2 separate regions of the Homo sapiens genome follow, and region 2 is linked to region 1. The links are contacts of gene promoters, found by promoter capture Hi-C in blood cells and fetal thymus (Javierre and others, 2016). All regions are on one chromosome and are shown on one strand. Each heading gives the region's core, a stretch centred on a gene start or on the middle of the fragment in contact. The rest is flanking DNA. Distances are from core to core; before and after follow the strand shown.

Evidence for each region. Contacts are between HindIII fragments. The CHiCAGO score rates a contact against its expected background, and 5 or more counts as called.
Region 2: a contact is called between a fragment that was not itself captured here and the fragment with the promoter of DOCK10 in region 1, in 1 of 17 cell types (activated CD4 T cells). The highest score is 5.1, in activated CD4 T cells.

Annotation. Positions count from the first base shown.
Region 1 is chr2:225,041,156-225,043,855 of GRCh38, reverse strand. It overlaps DOCK10 (dedicator of cytokinesis 10), which reads left to right and starts at 1,388. Exons shown (of 56, transcript NM_014689.3): 1 at 1,388-1,604. The coding sequence starts at 1,482. RefSeq lists silencers at 992-1,361, 1,552-1,791 and an enhancer at 2,342-2,681. The HindIII fragment of the contact is 1,396 bases long and covers 1,288-2,683 here.
Region 2 is chr2:224,520,999-224,523,698 of GRCh38, reverse strand. The region is part of intron 3 of CUL3 (cullin 3); the gene reads left to right. Among named protein-coding and RNA genes, the nearest start is that of CUL3, 63 kb to the left of the region's middle. RefSeq lists a silencer at 1,972-2,041. The HindIII fragment of the contact is 1,963 bases long and covers 406-2,368 here.

The sequences.
Region 1 (2,700 bases), core at 139-2,638:
CCCTCTTACGCCTGTTATGATTTCTAGAATGTGCTGAAATGATCCCCAAACAGCATCTCTGGCTAATTGAATCCTGGCTAACAAAGAGCTGACTAAAGTGCATTTATCAATTGCTTAAGAATTCTTTATACCCAAATGTGACCTTGTGTTATAACTATCTATCATTGGCTTTAGAAAGTGGCAGGGTCATGGATCCATAAAAAGCTGTTAAGAAAAAACCAGACCACTTGGAAAGGCTGTCCCAGATCTCTCCAGACCAGTATCCAGGGGCCAGAACTTCTCTGCCCCCCATCCAGTCCAACACTGAATTGCAGAACCACCCTGGGTATGACCCAGGAAGAGACTTCTTAGAAGGCTTTCATCAGATACCTATCTAGAGGCAAAGTGCAGGCTAGATGGGTATGGGCAAGAGAAGAGCAGAGACAGCATAACTGTGAAATCCACCCCCGACCTGACCACCCTACATAGTAACCCTGCCAGTTGGTTCTTGCCTACTCATCCTAATGCCACCCAAAGTCTCTTACCCCCAGAACGCTGATTTATTGGTTTTGAGTTCGTGTTAGTAGCTTAAACTGTCTCCTTGATTTCTCTGTATTTGTTTATTTGTTCGCTTGGTTACTTGCTGTCTCCCACCCCTACCCCGAAAAAACCTATCAGCTCTACACAGCCTTAAAGTGTAGTTGCTAAGTTCCTCTCCGTATCCTCAGTTTCCAGAACAGTGTGAGCTGGCATATAGTAGGCGCTTAATAAATACTCATTGAAGGAGTGAATGAATGGGGAAGCTTATTCCAAGGCCCTGAACATGGACTTCTGGCAAGGGAGCCTTCCAAACGCTGGCTTGGGCGATGCTGCTGGGATCCCAGCCACCAGATCTTTAATAAGCCTCTGACCCCTTCCCGAGGGTGGAAGGGCGAACCGAGCTTGGCCCCCACCCACTAGCCGGACCCAGAAAATAGAAGTCTAAACGGCAAATGCATCCAGGGCTCCAACTCTCCCAGCAACCTCCAAATGAGGCTGACGGCCTTGGACAGGCGACGGCCTTGGACAGGCCCCGCCCGGAGCCCCTCGGCGGCCGCCCCCCGCCCTCCCCCGCAGCCTGCAGTTCCCCCGGGCGGCGTGGACAGCCCCGGCCGGCCAGCTGAGCCCGTGTGGGCGGCGCGGGCAGGAGCCGCCCCACACGCGTCCCGCGACGCCCGCTCCAGATGCGCCGCTGCAGGGCCCGGCCGCCAGCCGAGTTGGCCGCGCGCGCCCGGGGGAGCGCAGAGTTTGGAAAGTCTTCGAGAAGCTTCAGAGGAGGGAAGGGGGTGGGAAGAGTGGGGGTGCAAGAGAGAAAAACCCGCCTCTTGCGAGTTGAGCGAGGAAGAGGGGGGGGAAGGCTCCGAGTTCCGCTTCCTGAACGGCGGGTGGATAGAGAAGGTTGGCGCGGGGAAGACCGGCGGGAGGCGCGCCCCGGGCCCGCGGCGCGATTGGCGTGACCGGCGATGGCCGGTGAGCGGACCCGCAGGTTCACCCGGAGCCTGTTGAGACCTGGGCAGGCGGCCGAGCTCCGGCACAGCGCCGCGTCCGCCGCCGCGGTGGCAGTCAGCAGCCGGCAGCAGCAGCGGGTGAGTGCGGCGCGTCCTCCGCGCCTTCCCGCGCGCCCCAGGCGCCCGGGGGGAACGGAGCCCAGCTTCCCCAAAAGCTCGGCGGGCCCAGGTCCCCGCAGCTCACGGGTCCTCTCCTCCGCACTCCCTCCCCCGCCGCCTCTGCGGGCTCCCCCGGCGCCACCTCAGCGAGGCAGCGCCACCGACGCGTAAGGACCGGGGGCGCGTTTGTGCACGCGGGACGCTCAGAGGAGCAGCTGCGTGGGTAGCAGAAGCGCAGCGTGGGAGAGGATGTGCAGGGGCTTTAATGGGGCGCGAGGGGGCCGGAATGCACCGCCAGTCACACTGGTGCTAAGTGATACGAGTGCCAGAGACCCCGGGTGGGGTGGGGGGATCTACAGAACAGAACCCCTGAGTCCGGAGGTCTGCGCGTCCCTCTCACCCTCCAGTAAACAGACCAGTGCGCTGAGAGAGAGGGATGCAGTCCGTGGTCCTCGCCCTGGTTAGAGCTGGGGCCCCCCGACGTTAACTATCGCAGAAATAGATGTACTTGGAACAGCCCTCCCACCGCAGGGTAAAAACCCACAAACCACTTAATACTCCTCCAGAAAGGGCTGAGGAACACAGGCTGGAGGAGACGTGGGTCATTAGGTCTCCAGCGGTTTCTGATATTTTTCTAAGATGTTTCGCGGGGTTCTCCCACCAGCAATGCTTTACTGGTTACTTCCTTATTGAAACGGCTTCTAAGTGCTGGGTGATTTCCGCGGGAAGTCCCTGGGGCAGCAGCCAGCATCTGATGCTAGGATCCTATCCATACCAACCCAGATGTTCCTGCGTTGCAGTAGGTCCACACTGCCGGGGAGAGGTGGCAAGAGACAAATCAACTCTAGTGGAAACGGGAAGCGAGTGGGAACAACAGCCTCACAGCAAGACCGGGGCTCAGCAGCCGCGCTCTTGGCCTGCGTTTGGTGGACCGGAATCCGGGTTGTGTGTTTCATTTTCTTTTTTGCCAGAAAATATCATTAGGAACTAAACGGCTCTTTTTAAGAGTGTGAAAGTGTTACTCTTGCCAGTCACCAATGAGGAGGGCGCCAAAAGCTTCCCAGAGCCAGTTCCC
Region 2 (2,700 bases), core at 138-2,637, 520 kb after region 1:
TTTTGTTTATCTGTTCATCTGTTGATGGACACTTGAGTTGTTTTCACCTTTTGGCTACTGTGAATAATGTTGCTGTGAACACGAATGTACAAATACCTCTTCAAGATGTGCTTTCATTTCTTTTGGGTGTATACCCAGAAGTGGAATTAGTGGATCCTATGTTAATTGTTTTTGTAATTTTTGAGGAACTGCTATATTGCTTTCCACAGCAGCTATACTATCTTAGGTTTCCACCAACAGTGCACGAGAGCTCTAATTTTTCCACATTCTTGTCAAAACTTGTTATTTTGTGTTTTGTGTTTTTTTTTTTTATAGTAACTCTTCTAATGGGTATGAGGTGGTAGTTTTTTATTTTCATCCAGCTTTTATAGTTGTTCTTCCAGGGGCGTTGGTCTTACAAAAGCTTTTCTTTCAGTACTAAAGGTGGAATAACATTTTGAGGTAGATGTTATTTTACAGATGAGGCAACTGAGACAGATACTAAGGTCACACCTAGTAAATGGCAGACAAGACTGAAACAGAGGCTATTTGGTTCTTGAATCAGTGCTCTTAACCACTGAATTGTATTGCTTCTCTAATACAGGTCTTCTTTCCTGAAAGATAGTCTTATAAATTCATTGCTCTAAGACCTCAAAGTGTGATTAACTGTTTTTTTTCCCTCTGACCTCTAGATTATTAAATTTGAAGTAGAGAACAGTGTTTTTATTTTATGATTTATTGCAGTTTACACAACTTTAGAGAAACATGGGTTTGATTTGTCCAATATCTTGGTAGACAATTCTTAAATGGAAATTATTTTTAAATAAAAAATTTTCACAACTGTGTTTTTCTTGTTAAAATTTTTCAGACCCCTGAGAAGGATTGTTTTTTTGAGACGGTGTCTCACGCTGTCACCCAGGCTGGAGTGCAGTGGCAGGATCTTGACTCACTGCAAGCTCCGCCTCCCGGGTTCATATCATTCTCCTGCCTCAGCCTCCCAAGTAGCTGGGCTACAGGCTCCCGCCACCACGCCTGGCTAATTTTTTTGTATTTTTTAGTAGAGATGGGGTTTCACTGTGTTAGCCAGGATGGTCTCGATCTCCTGACCTCATGATCCGCCCGCCTCGGCCTCCCAAGAAAGATTTTAAGAAAATTTTTACTGTGGTGGAAACTCTGAGCTTTTTAGTAGTGGCTAAGTCCACCAGGTTTTTTGACACCATATCATATGCTTCTCTACCAAATTTATCAGTAATATTTTTATATCTAGAAATGTTTATCTGTACAATTTACTAATTCATATGTTACTGGTGCTGTTTTAGAAGTGTAGTCAGTTACTGGTATCATGGAAAGTATTGAGAAAGTTCTTTAAACTTCGATCTAATTATAATTAGACTTTTTTTCCCCCACTATGATTCTGCAGTAGAAACTTTTTACTACTTTTCTGCTCATTTAAAATTTTTCTATTTCTGTCTTCATTGTGTTAAACCTTTTTAAATCTGTATTTATTTCATGATTTGAAAGTGAACTCTGAAAATATTTTATTACTTGTTAATAGAGGATTACCTTAGTGATTAAATTTGGTAAGGCAAGTTCTAACATGTTCTGACAGACTTGTCATAGAGTTATTTGCCTCTTTTTTTTTTTTTTTTAATTTTAAATGTGAGTTTAACTTTTCAGGGTTTATCTCTAGCTTACTAGCAGAATAAGTATTTAATATTTATAAAGATTTTTTTAACCCTGTTTACATTTGTCTTTTCGTATTCTCTTTTACAGTAGTAGACAAAAACAGTTACAGATGTTCTTAGTATGAGGATAAGAAACTGAAAGAAGAACTATTTAAGAGTTTGATTAACCAGCTTGACAGTTAGCTTAAAAGACCAACTTTCACAGCAATTCACACATTGTTAAACCTTTTTTTTTTTTCCTAAATAAATAGCTACTGCTGGCCATATGTGGGACCAGGCAGAGGATAGATGAATAAGTACTAATAAATAACTATCCTTGGTCTATTAGGAGTAGTAGTAAAAGTACTGAACTACTTTGAGAGGCCGAGGCGGGTCAGGAGTTAGAGACCAGCCTGGCCCAACATGGTGAAACCCCAACTCTACTGAAAATACAAAAATTAGCCGGGCATGGTGGCACATACCTGTAATCCCAGCTACTAGCGGGGCTGAGGCAGGAGGATCACTTGAACCTGGGAGGCGGAAGTTGCAGTGAACCGAGATCGTGCCACTGCACTCCAGCCTGGGCAACAGAGCGAGACTCTGTCTCAAAAAAAAAAAAAAAGAAGTATGAAACTACTGGACTTTAAAGCAAACATGTTATTAAAAGCTCCCTTAAACTTTGTAATAGAACCAGAGGACTTTTGTATTTATATTTATACTAAGCTTTCAGAGTTGAATGTGACCCAAAGGTTAGTTTTAGAATTTGTTCTCAAACACCTGTTTACTCATAGTTACAAATGAAACATTAGATAGGAATGATAAAATAACAATTTTTAAGTTGTTTCTTTCCTTGGGTGCACCATTGATTTTGCCTAGAACCCATTTATCCTAGCTTGCTTTTCTGTAACATAATGACTATTAAAAATATTTACTAAACTTTTTCTTGCAGGTAAATTAAGTAGTAAGAGTTAAGTTGTTTTTTGGACTTAATTTTCACATTTGTTTTTATTTTAACTTTTTATTTGATTTGTTTGTAATGCCACTCCCTGAGTAATGA